Regions from separate parts of the Homo sapiens genome. Here region 2 is linked to region 1. The links are contacts of gene promoters, found by promoter capture Hi-C in human tissues and cell types (Jung and others, 2019). All regions are on one chromosome and are shown on one strand. Each heading gives the region's core, a stretch centred on a gene start or on the middle of the fragment in contact. The rest is flanking DNA. Distances are from core to core; before and after follow the strand shown. Region 1 holds the start of LAMP5 (lysosomal associated membrane protein family member 5). Region 2 overlaps PAK5 (p21 (RAC1) activated kinase 5).

Region 1 (6,721 bases), core at 454-2,953:
AAGTCGCCTCAGGTCCCTTGGACATGTTGTGGCTTTCCTGTTGAGCCGGGGAGGTGCGCTTCAATCGTCCCCGCAGCGTCTGGGTTCTTAAACCTAGGGGCCGCCACTTCCCACACCCACGCGGAGCCTGCGGCCCCTCTGCCCGCTGGGCTCGGAGTTACCTTTACAAAGAGCATTTTGAGTGCATATGCGCGATCCACCCAGAACACTTGCAGCTCCGACTGGCTGTGGCCACAGCGGCCCTTCACCTCAGCTCCCCGGGTCAATGCGATATCGGCCTGTTCTGTGATCAGCTGGGAACACAGACGCCCCGCGCCCCCTCAGCTCGCCCGGCCCCGGGGCGGGGGCTGTAAAGGGCGGCGCGTCCAAACTCTGGGTTGCACGCTTGGGCGCTCCTTTGCGCGCGCGCATCCCAGGTTCCGGGAACATGCGGTTAGATGCTCTACGTGCAGCCCCGATAGGGAAGCGGAGAGAAGGGGGTTTACTTTCAAAGCAGGCAGGGGAACAGAAGGCATTACAAGCTGGAATCCCCATGCAGCATTCGGGAGCAGCCTGCCGGGGTGTGGGAAAGAAGGCGGGCAACCCAGGTCTTCGAAGAGCCTTGAGGAAGGGTGCCCTTCGCCCTGGAGCCCTAGGAGCAAGCTGAGGGGGGGGAAAGATTCCTTACATCTACGTAGTTGCTGGCCCACACATCATAAGGTACAATAAATTTGGCTGCAAACTCTGCCATGAGACACGTCGTCCCATTTTCCCGCACCACAAATATATCTTTTTCAGGGTTAGTGGAAAGGCCTGAGAGATTTTCCACTTCTTGTTCTGCCATGATTTGAGCCATTGTATCTGCGGAACAAACAAAACAATTCCATCAGTTCAGGGCTCAGCCCACGCGTCTCGGGCGCTAGGGTGGGGAGACAGTGCTCTGCAGGCTTTGGAGTGACAAAGTTCTCTGCCAGCAGCTGTGCGCTCTACGAGCCGTTTCTCTAACCCGGGTCTAACAAGCCTCATTCCTTCGCTGTTAATTTATAATGAAAATACAGTTAAAAAAATTAAAAATCCTGACTTTGTTTGTAATATAGCTGGCTGTTTTCTACATCTTGGGATTTTAAAGTAAATATTTCTTGCCAATGCTCTGACCTCACGAAGCTGGCCTGTCTAGGCTCTGTCTGGAATATGCCACAGAGGTGTATGGCTCTCAGGGGAATTCCCTGCCACCGGCGAGGAAGGCCCTCCCTCCTCCCCTAAAAGAAAAAAAGAAAAAACACCGCAAAACATTAAGGGCCATATTTTTTATCTCAAGCTAATTGACTTTACTTTGCCGGCTCTGTTCTCTGCAAAGAGTGCCCGTCCTCTCTCCCAGTCGCCAAATCGCTACTCACGGAACAACATCAGGAGAACTCGAAGTCTGTCGATGCTGGGGACCCCTCTTCCTTGGAGATCCATACTCGCAGTGCCCCGAATGAGGCCGGCTGTGCTGCTGCAGAGGCCGCCAGAGAGGGAATCCCTCAAAGTCGCCGCTGGAGTGGGCCGGGGTGAGCGAGAGGCGGGGGACAGAGAAGGGGGAGGGAGGGAGCGCGTATTCTGTGAGCGCCTAGCTAGGACTCGGTGTCGAGCGCGGCACCGACAGCTGCTGGCAGAGCAAATCGGCTCACTGCGGAGGAAAGGACCGCACGGCGGTCCACGGCTGCGAGTGCTGAAAGCAATCCGATTGTGTGGCAGGAGTGGCTGTGGCTTGGCTTGTGCGGAGGGCCAATGAGATCTGGGGGGACTAAACTTCTCCCTGGGTCTGTTTCCTGTTCTGCAACTGCATCCGCAAAGATGAGTCTGTTCTGAGAAACTTAATACCACCCTCAGCCTTATTAAATCTCCTTACCAGGTACAGTTATTAAGTGGTGTAGATACCTTATCACTGGAGTACTGTCTTCTGAAAACGCATCTGGTTCCCGAAAGAAAACGGTGGAGCAAAAATTGTTGCTGATTCGGGGGAGGAGGGCTATGCAGGAATAGAGAAGGGAAAATGCTATGGCAACAGTTTCCTGAATTTGGAGACATCCCCTTCTCTCCCCTGCTCTCAATGAGCTCATGGGTTTAAAGTTAAATTGACGCCTCCTCGAACGAGGCCATCAGACAATGCAGTAGCTCCATGTGGGCTTATTTTCCTGTGAATTTTGCTCCCGGGTGCATGAGGACTCTGAACTCTGGGGTCACCTACCCTCCCGCATTATACTGTGACCACTCTGCCAAAAAGGGATGCAAGCAAATCAGAAGTTTTTGAGAGTTATCTAGTGTCTCCTAGGACAGAAATTTTAGAATTATGCCCTAAGTAATGTCACATAGTTATGTAAGAAAAACACACACTGATATTACTCTAAAGCCTGTAGTGGAACAGAAGAACAAATACTACTGGGCTAATTCCTGTATTTACATATTTGGTAGCTTGCTTATTTTTTATTTTTGCTCTGTAAATCAGAATACAGCTTTCAAAAATACACATGCAGTCCTCATCAATTGTAGTGATGTCCAAATATTTTATTCCTTAGAAGATATTTCATAATGCAAATAAATGTTGCATCAGTAATATAATGTTATAAAACAATGTCATATTAAAGGGAAAATTGCAAAGTATTTCACCTGCATTATCTAATTTGATTCTCCCCAATCTTAGAGGGTAGGCAAGGAAAGATATGAGTTACTGTGGTTTTACATACCCCAAAACTGAGGCTCAAATAAATTAAATGACCTTCCCAAATGTCACATGGTCAGTTAGAATTAAAATACAAAAATCACATGCTTTAACTCTGTGAGATTATCTTCATTTCTCCTTATATAATATTTTTACTCCATATTTTGACTTCCATAAAAATCTATATTCAATATCAAATAATAATCTGAAATCTGAAATCTCTATCATTAATTCACATTCTTCAAATTTATAGAATGCTGTTTTAAGTATAATCACATTCTGACATATCTGCCACAAAGTATCTATATAATGTTTTTGGCTTTCAAACATATTCCTATATCAATCATTAGATCACTAGCAATTCAAAGTATAAAGTAATATTAAAATTGACATTATATTTTGACATCTTGACTTTTATGTTTGTAGTTCAGTATTTCATCCAAACATTTCTCAAGAACTTTACAAAGATGATTATATATAGAAGAATTGATGCAAATTTTACAGAACTTAACAGAAATGATTTTATACAGAAGATTGATAAAACGTCAGTTCTCATCAGTTGAAAGTGGAAGAGATAACATTTGTATGTGTTACATTTTTTCATGTTAGCAATTATTATTAAACACTTATTTTCCTGTAGTACTGTAAAACTGGAAAACAATGAGACATGTAATAAAGTATTTATTCTCTCTCTCTCTCTCTCTCTCCAGTATTTTATGAGGACAGAAATGAGTAGATTTCAGTCCAGGATTCACTACTTATTATTTTTGTGACCTTCTGAAGATTTTATTTGTTCTCATCTGAAAAATTGGGAAAATAACTCAGGGGATGGCTAGTTAAACCAAATGGGCCAATGAGTATAAATAAACAAAGTACAAATAGATCCATAAACATTAACCGAATACTTACTACTTCCAGTATGCTTGATGCTTTGAAAACCAAAAGATATTTATCATTACACAAGTAGGAGAGACACCTATAAAAGATTTTGACAATTTCTCTTGCAGTATGTTATTGCAGATATCTTCACTATATAAGTTGTTAAAAGATCAACTGAATTAATTCATGATTATCTGCCTTAATAATAAAAGATTAGGTGAGTAGTAGCATTGGTCATTGATCTTAAAATGTAGTAGTTGATTTACAAATGAGATGGTTGTTCCTTTGAAAATTATACCTGATATAAATGATCTCTTTGTTGACACTGGAGAGTGTACCCTAGAGTACTCAAATGGGTTGAAAGAAGAAAGAAAGCAATTTTAACTCTTTTTTTCTGGGGGGATTATTTTCAAAGCACAATCAGTTTAATGACTTTTTTAATATTTAATCTTAAACATGGCTAACAAATGCCCATTAATTTATCATCTTATCCACTGTGATACATTGCAATAGGAGTTAGGTCATTATACCTACAACTTTCACCTACATTAATTAAATATCTTTCTAATCATTCTGGAAAAAAACTCTTTGGTTCTCTAAAATAAGCAAAGAAGTGATCAAGGAGCAAAATTTGCCATTAAATTGCATTTTAATATATTAACAATGTTCCCCAGAATTTGCTCTACTTTTCATTTCTCAAGTCTAAAAGATGGTAGGAGAAATTGACATAAATATGTACACCTGTGTGGGTGGTAACTGTGTCAATTTTTATTATTGCTGCTGGTGGTCAGTAGAAACTGTTAGGGTGCAGTGTGACCTAAACACACTGGATTTGGGATCTCCTCTAGATCTTCTAGGTCCTTCAAAGGCTGTTTTTCAATTCATATGGATACTTACTGAATTAGCCTTTATGAATCTCATGCCATTGAGTGGTTGCTGTTTTATAAAAGGGCAAGAAGAGGCCCTTGCATAGAACTTTCAATTTGGATGAGAAGAATTTACATAAAGATTCCAGTTAGCCTAGCACAGTGTCTGCATAAATGTTCAGGGGGAAAAAAAAGTAAGACAGGCATCCCAGGTGGGAGAGTGGTTGAAATTGATGAAAAAAGGTCTCTTGGAGAAGGTGAGTCTTGAAAGAAGTTGACAAACTGATGTAGGGTGGAAGGAAGGATACGGATGGAAGAAATATCTATTGAATAGGGAATCAATGCAAAGATGTAACTCTTCATCCATCCATATTTATCCATTTGCAATAAAAAGCAAATTAGGCCGTAAATCAACAATGCCTTATGTACTATAGAACCCCTATTTCATTTCCGTATTTGATAATTTACCCACATATGGCATATGCAAAAGAATGGCCTATGCAAAATTTATTCTAAATAAAATTAAACTTTTTAAGTTGTTAGGGGCATCTTTTCATACTTGGTTGTGCAAGCAATTGACTTGTATTTGTAGAATCAAGAAACAAAACTATGAAAATTAGTGAACAATACTAATAAGAAAAGCGTATTTATAGCTTCAAAAGGAAAAGGCTGGGCTTTGTTGCAGCTGAAATTTGGTTTATTGAGGTTTCAGTTCACTTTACAGTAAAGTGTAAAAATGTACTCCTTGCTCTGTTGTTCCCACAGCCACCAAGCCATCCCTCTGCAACCCACACACAGACAACGGACGCACACCCGAATAACAGAAGCAGAAATAATTTAAACAAACAAGATGCATGCAGCTGTTAAGCCAGACTTTCTACTCACCAAAACTTTTCTTGTGTTCAGCTTATCATAGAACAATTAATTCATTTAGTCATTGCCTTCAAAGACCTTCGCAACCCTTTCTAGGATCTAAACTCTTGTGGGACAGAAACTGAAAAATAAATGTATGCACAAGAATTATTTTTCAGTTTCTATCCCACAAGGGTTTAGATCCAGAGCAAAGAGTACAAAAATAAGTGTGCGCATGAGCAATGTATGCACAAGAATATTTCGCACATACATTGCTAAGCCCTAGAATATTTGGAAAGAATCAGAAAATTGAGTTTAGGCTCCAATGCACTCAGTCTGCATGCCCTTGGTGTAATTTTCCTCATCCTAGTGCTTCTTTGGTGTCTCCTGCATCTACTCTAATGAAACAATGGTTATTTCTGCAATAACGGTAACCAGTGGAGGAAACAAACCACCAGAATAACGGCCTTTTTATTGGCTATGTTCACACTAAGTCCTGAAAAAAATACCATTTATGAGTTCATTTAGAAGAATTGCCTTCAGCATGGGGCAATATAGAGAACTGCATCCTTATAGCAAACCCTAAATAAGTAAATGGTGAGGGGCCAGGTAATCATTCCTCAAAATTTCAGTAGCAAATAAATCATTTTTGTCTTTTGAATCCGTGATTAGTTAACTGTTCTGGTCAGTCTTACATTTTTGGTCAGTGATACACAACTCACTCTGCTATCTCGGGAGGGAGGAAAACCTTGTTAACTTCTGGGCAGGGCACCTTTCTGTAAGGTTGAATTAAAACTCATTTGAGGATTTTAAAAAATCTTTAATGAGTCTGTTCTCCAAGAAATGACATCTGTCACAATAGGCCTAAGGTTAGACTAGCTGTGTCTCATTTAACATATTTTGCTACCTGAATTCTGTGATAATGCAGTACCCTCAAAATCTCTGAGATGGCACAGGAGTCCATTGTTCCCTTGGTTACTACTCTCTCTCTCTCTCTGTTTTTTTTTTGTTTTGTTTTGTTTTGTTTTTTTTTGAGAGTCTCACTCTGTCGCCCAGGCTAGAGTGCAGCGGTGCAATCTTCGCTCACTGCAACATCTGCCTCCTGGATTCAAGCTATTCTCCTGCCTCAGCCTCCTGAGTAGCTGGAACTACAGGCATTTGCCACCATGCCCGGCTAATTTTTTGTATTTTTAGTAGAGACAGGGTTTCACTATTTTGGCCAGGCTGGTCTCGAACTCCTGACCTCGTGATCCGCCTGCCTCGGCCTCCCAAAGTGCTGGGATTACAGGTGTAAGCCACTGTGACCGGCAAATTACTCTTTTAATTGTCTATCTGAAGTTATCTGCATATTAACTTGAAGATGTGTTTGGAACTAAGGAAAATTTATATTAATGGCCTTTGGGAAGGAGGGTGAGAGTGGAGCCCAGAGCCCACTGTCTCCTAT
Region 2 (7,105 bases), core at 2-2,501, 68 kb before region 1:
GATATTCTGGAATAGACAAAACAATAAGGACAGAAAACAGATCAGTGATATCAAGGGTTTGGGGAGAGGGTAATGTTTGACTAGAGGAAACTCAGGAGATATTTTTGCAGCTGGTGGCACTAATTTGTATGGCACTCTAACAGTGAATACATGATGCTTTGCACTTGTCAATACCCATAGAGCTTTGCAGCACAAAGAGTTAATTAATGTACGTAGTTTCAAAAAACAACAAAAAATAAACCAGAAGATCAGAGGATCCTGGGATAGAATGCAGAATGTGACCAAAGAATCCAACAGCTATACATTTATAACATAACCTCATTGAAGGGGGTGCAGGAAAAAAGACACTAACTTAAGGAACTTTGGAAACAGTGCTTTGAATGCAAACTATAAGTGTAAAGGAATTTTAAAGAACTGGACTTAAACATGGTACTTGAGTTGACAAAGTTGTTTCTCATGGTAGAGTGAGTTAATCTGAAACTGCTGAACAGTTATACTAGCACTGAATAGGCAAATGACTGGCAGATGGTGGGGCCCATGTTTTTTACTGTTGCAGAGGAAGTTACAGGTAAGGAAATGGCAAGAATGAATTATGTGGTACTTGATTAGATTCAGAGACATTAATGTGGATTTATGTTTAGGTTAATATAGATACAGATGGATGGATATAATTATAGGTGTGTGAGTGTGTTCATGAGTTAGTCTACAAACATATTATTTCGGAGCTCTGTTTGCTGAGGCCTGGCAATGACACCCAGTAGCAATGAGTATTCCTGGAACCAAATCTTAATTTCTAATACTATTAGCGTTCCTTGGAGAAATGCCTGATTTGGGGGGAAGGGCAGGGAAAATAAAAGATAAACCTGGAGCTTCTTGTAGGGACAGAAAGTAAGGAAGTGCTCAAAAAATAAAAGGAAGAGGGATCATCAAAGGGACACAGCAGCCAGCCTGAGAGAACTCCCAGTGACAAAAGCTGGAACCATTTGAGCAACAAGGCAAATAACAGAGTGTTGGCTTATAACCCAAAGTATAAAATAAATAACCATAAGTCCATCCATCCTTATATATAAATAAATGATTGAATGAGTAGGTAAATGGGAGCAAATAAGCAAGTCTCCTGTGCAGAAGAATTCCAACTACTTTATATAGATACCCTACCCCCACCACACACACACACCCAAGAAGATAAAGCTTAAATCCCTGACCCTTGAGTAGACGCTACACTTACTGACTTGTTCCCAAAGAATACAATATACAGAAAGCTAGGGAAGGGGAGTGTGACTGTGTGTATAAGAAACCTGGAAAATATGACCTCACCCAGGTAGTCAGGGCTAACATCATCATTCCTAAGTCGTGTCGACGATATGTACCCTAAACATTATGCGATGAAATGTGACTTGACTCTCTGATCTTCCTCCTCAAACCAAATAACCTCTGTTTAAACATGGGAAAAACACCAGAAAACCCCAATGGAGGAACATTCTCCAAAATACCTCACCAGTACTCCTCAAAACTGTCAAGGTCATCAAAAAATAAGGAAAATCTGAGAAACTGTCACAGATCAGAGGAAACTCGGAAGATATAACAAATAAATGTAATGAACTATCCTGGATGGGACTCTAGAACCCTAGGAGAAAATTAATGAAATCTATAGGAACATGGAGTTTCCTTAATAGCAATGCAAGATATTAACTCAAGGGGAAACTGGATGAGAAGTCTATGAGAACTCTGTATTCTCTTTGCAACTTCTCTGTTAATCTAAAACTATTCTAGAATAAAAATTTTATTTGAAAGAAAAGGGTATAGTACAAAACTATTAGTCCAGGACTCTTGGAAAGAAAAAAAATAAACCCTTTGTTTCACCATGGATAGATCTATAAAACATCAGCTCCAGGACAACTTTGACTTCTTCCTCCAGTTTGAAATCTTCTATTGTACCATCCAAGATAGTTTTGAACTCCTTGCTACTTGCTCAAAAGTATTTTTCTCCTAAAATCCTGGAAGTCTGAAGTCACAACACTTTGTTCTTTGTTCTTTTATCCACCCCCATCATATTTGCCTGCAAATCCTGTCATTGTCAAGGCACGGCTGACGGGCTTTGTAAGTGGTTTGCGATGTCTTTCAGTTCCTGGTATTCTTGTGTTATTTAGGTTCATTAAAGGGAACAATTTGTCACTAAGATCCAGGTGCAACCATCATTACTAAGCCATCCAAAATTCAGCGGTGATGTTACACAGAAGTGTGGCCATAACAAACAAGCAGTATAGTATAAGTATATATACTTAATAAGAATATCACATTTGATCATAAATCACACAAATAATCTTCAGTCTGTTTCCTAATTACAGTTTCAGGAAGTGCCTGCCTCATCCATAAAATTTCATAACCTCAGTTATTATGTCTTCCATATAAGGGCAAAAAATGTACACCCATTTCTAGTTATGTTAATAGTTGGGTGATAATGCCTTCTGGTTTTGAAAATCATCTGAATAATGAATGTAAAACAGTAATAAATATTATTTTTTATTACCAAACAGTTATAGAGTGTTAAATTATAATTATCAGCTCATCATTAGGTGGTTAGGGCTTATTATTTAGGTAGAAGAAGTAGGGGGAAGGGATTTGCCTGTAAACTGGTAAATAAAACAGTTATATTCTATGTAGTCTCCTACATGGCTTTTTGATGGTTATTTGATGTCTCTGTTGAGATAGGTAAGAAGAAAAATGCAATTTGAGATTGTTTACTATTTGATTTATTTCACCACTGAAGTCAATCAACACATTTTCTTTATCATTTTGTGTTAAGTGTTCCCGGGGTCTTTTTTCTTCTGTAGTTTAATTTGGATGGAGTGGGGGTGGGATGCCACCATCAATTTAAATCCATGAAATATTTTCTTTAAACAATATTCCCTCTATTATTCCCAGACAATCGTTAGAGGAAACAAACCCTGCAAGGAAACCTCCATCAACGGCCTGCTAGAGGATTTTGACAACATCTCGGTGACTCGCTCCAACTCCCTAAGGAAAGAAAGCCCACCCACCCCAGATCAGGGAGCCTCCAGCCACGGTCCAGGCCACGCGGAAGAAAATGGCTTCATCACCTTCTCCCAGTATTCCAGCGAATCCGATACTACTGCTGACTACACGACCGAAAAGTACAGGGAGAAGAGTCTCTATGGAGATGATCTGGATCCGTATTATAGAGGCAGCCACGCAGCCAAGCAAAATGGGCACGTAATGAAAATGAAGCACGGGGAGGCCTACTATTCTGAGGTGAAGCCTTTGAAATCCGATTTTGCCAGATTTTCTGCCGATTATCACTCACATTTGGACTCACTGAGCAAACCAAGTGAATACAGTGACCTCAAGTGGGAGTATCAGAGAGCCTCGAGTAGCTCCCCTCTGGATTATTCATTCCAATTCACACCTTCTAGAACTGCAGGGACCAGCGGGTGCTCCAAGGAGAGCCTGGCGTACAGTGAAAGTGAATGGGGACCCAGCCTGGATGACTATGACAGGAGGCCAAAGTCTTCGTACCTGAATCAGACAAGCCCTCAGCCCACCATGCGGCAGAGGTCCAGGTCAGGCTCGGGACTCCAGGAACCGATGATGCCATTTGGAGCAAGTGCATTTAAAACCCATCCCCAAGGACACTCCTACAACTCCTACACCTACCCTCGCTTGTCCGAGCCCACAATGTGCATTCCAAAGGTAACGTTTGCTACCTCCTTTCCCTCACGTGTGCAAAAACCTCCACAGGGGTGGTGCTGGCACGACCTTTTTATACGATTGGATTGTAAAGTACTTGTTTGCCTTTTAAGGGAAAATCAATATCAAAACCCACCCTATCTCCACTTGTGAGGCCCCAGGGCAGAGGTTTAGGATAAGGCATATATATTCATTAAAATAAAAATCTATCTTTTGGGCCCTCCTACGTGGTTTCTCATTAAAAGGCGAATAAACTTATTGATTTGAAAGATAGAATTCTGATATATGAGTGATAAATATGATGTGACTGTATTTGACTAAGTTCCCTGTTAAGGAGTGGATCAGTCATATACAATCATAGAGCATTAGATCGAGCCATCCAGTGGTTCCTACATCCTGGCAAAGTTTGCATAGACCTGCTAAAAAGGAAAGAAACTCAGTATAACATGGTAATTTTTAAATAAAGCCAATTTTGTTCAACTCAGGGGATGGCCCTTCATATTAAGAGTATGTACTTTCTACTATATTTGATTTGAAATATTGGTTTTTATATGAAATTTGGGGGTGACAGATGGTTGCTGGACCGCTGGACCATTTTTGTCCCCTTTTCACTTTGTTTTGTAGTAATTCCTCTTTTAAATTTTGTTTAAATGTTAGCAGCTCCAAGTTTGCTTTGAAATTTGACTGGTCTATGATATCCTAAAGTTTGGGAATCACTGCCGGAGAAGTTACTGAAACTAAAAGCACAGGCAAAGGTCTATGGGTCCGAAGGTCTAAAGTCTTGGAAAATACCTTTGAGAATGTGCAAGTGATTTATTTTTCCCTGTCATTTAGAAATGTTTTTGCTACCTTACCTGTCCAGCAAAAGAACATGGACCGTAGGGTGTGGAATGTGGATTACATAGAGGTCTTGAAGCAGGTGAGAGGGACATGACTTCTCACAGGGCAGTCATGTACTTTATTTATACCAAACTCTTGACAGTTTGGTGAGCAGCACAGAAAACTCTGGAACCCAAGCCTGCCTGCATTCACCTGATTTATTGATTATAGATAGTCGATATTTTTCCTTTGCTTCTTATTTCTCATTAACCTCATCCAAGATGTTGAAGAGAAGCCATTTAAGTGTATTGTTGGAGTTACTTCAGCCATTCTTTAGAAGAAACAAAAAAGCTGTCACCTTAGTTCCCAGGATATAAAATTAAAAACAAATCTTGATAAATAGAGGCCTGAGATATGTTCCTCCAGTTAAAATTCACATAGTGACAGTGTTTTTTTTTTATCTCGTGGTATTAATGTACTTGAACACCCACACTCAGGATATCATGACTGCTTTCTCTTCCTGTGTGCTTGCCAGGGTGACTGTTGGAAAGAGGTCTAATTAACCACAAGCAAAATCTACTTGAACTCATACGCATGTCTCATGATACATGAGATAGTTTATTCCATTTCTTGTGCATATCACTTGTGCATTTCTGTGAGTGATATGAAATAAATAAGTTAACATGTTCTATAGCTGAATTGAGTTACATCCTGAGGCTTTGAATATCAGTGGTTATTTTTTTATCTAAGATTTTGTGTGCGTGTGGCTTATTTGCATATTTGTGTTAGGGAGTTGTTTGGGGTCATAGTTACAGAGAAAACATTGCCCAGATGATGCTGCATTTTGGTCCTGGAGCCTTATTTGGCTCTTCCTGGATGTTGGAAATGAATATTGGGTGGGCTACACATGTCTATAGTCCAAATAGTTTTAGAGGTCAAGAGTTTTAGAACTCTTAATTCTGGAGTTTCAGTCTTCTCTCTTTTTTATTTTTATTTTTTTAAAAAGGATGAACTGGTATCCCTGAGTCCACATTTTCACATAGCATGGGCTTTTGGGATTTAATGTCACCACCAGCAATCCCTGCACACTCATTTCCTAGAAGGGGAAACTGAGGCCCAGAGAGCCACATGACACACTTACAGTTTCATAATTAGTTGGTTGCAAAACAAGGACAAGAACTCAAGTCTGGTGTTTCTCCCTGCTCAATATTTTCCTATTATTTGGGCGTATGTTATCTCGGGGACTCAACTGCATTTGCCAAGAAAATCCATGAGAAGTCCCAGTGGCCACCAGAACTTTCGTCTAAGTGACAGAAGAACGAGGGTGGGAGGGGTGATTCACTTTAATTCCCTACAGGCTCCCTCTATTCTGCAGACTTCCAAATATAAGACAAAGCAGACCTGCCCTGAAATCTGGCTCTGCCAGCCCAGAAACAATGCACAAACTATTGTGGCTCACCACCACCAACAACAACAACAAAAACAGCATAATCACTCATGGGAACTTCTACCAAGGGTGTTCAGCCCTTACGATCAGAAATACAAAGAAGCAAGCTGCTGCTCCATGTTTCACAGGAAACTCGTGAGAGATTCATGAGCAGGTTTTTGTTTTGTGGGAGGATAAGAGGTGGGAGGCAGGTTAGTAATTAAAACGTTCACTTGATTAAAAATACAACATTTCTCTGAAAAGACGGAGGTGCCTGTGTCTTTAGAACGGTACTCTTAGAGTGTACCAATCACATTTGGATTTCCAGCTGAGGGAAGAAATAGCGGTCACGACTCAGATGAGTCGGCCTTGCTTGCAGAGACTCCTAAAGGAGGCTGGGTCATGTTTTCATCTCCAGTAATAAAAGGAAGCACAAAACTTGTGTAGGTCTCCAGATGAAGCAGAAATGAGGAGGGTCATGTGTGTGTACACATGTGTGTGTGTACACACGTGTGTGTGTTTGACACAGTTTTACATTTTGTCCTAAAGAAAAAAAAAGATTAATGTTAACCCACAGAAAAAAAAAATCCTTCAATGTTATCTACCTACTTAATTTCCCTGCTAGCAGGACAGGAATCAAGAATGTTATGAGTTTGTTGATGTTGGCCTCCTCTCCCTACATTTAAGTGTATTTTGCTGGAACTAAGCAGATGAAACCCTGGGGTTGGGAGGGTGGGAAGCAAAGCCAAACAAAAACCATATAGCACCATACCCACCACAAAATTATGAAAACTGCCAGATGTGGAGAGAGAATGCTTTCCACCCTCGCCTGCAGACAAATCTGCCTTCCACGGAAGGAAGCTAGCTGGAGAAATTGCCGCCATGTATTTGACTTTGCTGATTCCTGTGCTCTCCAGAGACCAGGCAGCCACCTACTTGTGTCTTTGTATTGGCCCAGCACATCCGTTCCCTACTGAGAAGCCCCCAGCATAACAATCCCACCAGTTCATTAAGCATTTGCTGTGTACCAGATACATGCCATGTTTTGTTGAGCCTCACAGATCTGTAAGGCAAGAATTCTTGACCCCTTTGTACAGATGAGGAAATGGGTTTTAAGAGGCTTAGTATGCTCACAGCAGAGCTGGGATCCAA

The links. The method cuts DNA at HindIII sites, captures the fragments that hold promoters and counts their contacts. A contact is called where the count stands out against the background at its distance.
Region 2: a contact is called between a fragment that was not itself captured here and the fragment with the promoter of LAMP5 in region 1, in 6 of the 25 tissues and cell types used here (H1 embryonic stem cells, IMR-90 fibroblasts, aorta and 3 more).

What each region holds. Positions count from the first base shown.
Region 1 is chr20:9,509,572-9,516,292 of GRCh38, reverse strand. It overlaps LAMP5 (lysosomal associated membrane protein family member 5), which reads right to left and starts at 1,703. Exons shown (of 6, transcript NM_012261.4): 1 at 1,377-1,703; 2 at 668-840; 3 at 162-293; 4 at 1-37. The coding sequence starts at 1,440. LAMP5-AS1 (LAMP5 antisense RNA 1) reads left to right here and starts at 1,295. Exons shown (of 5, transcript NR_109957.1): 1 at 1,295-1,529. RefSeq lists enhancers at 184-768, 5,087-5,136. The HindIII fragment of the contact is 16,129 bases long and covers 1-6,721 here.
Region 2 is chr20:9,576,751-9,583,855 of GRCh38, reverse strand. It overlaps PAK5 (p21 (RAC1) activated kinase 5), which reads left to right. Exons shown (of 10, transcript NM_177990.4): 4 at 2,926-3,711. The region is part of intron 2 of LOC105372523 (a long non-coding RNA gene); the gene reads right to left. Among named protein-coding and RNA genes, the nearest start is that of LAMP5-AS1, 65 kb to the right of the region's middle. RefSeq lists an enhancer at 6,704-7,105. The HindIII fragment of the contact is 8,917 bases long and covers 1-5,709 here.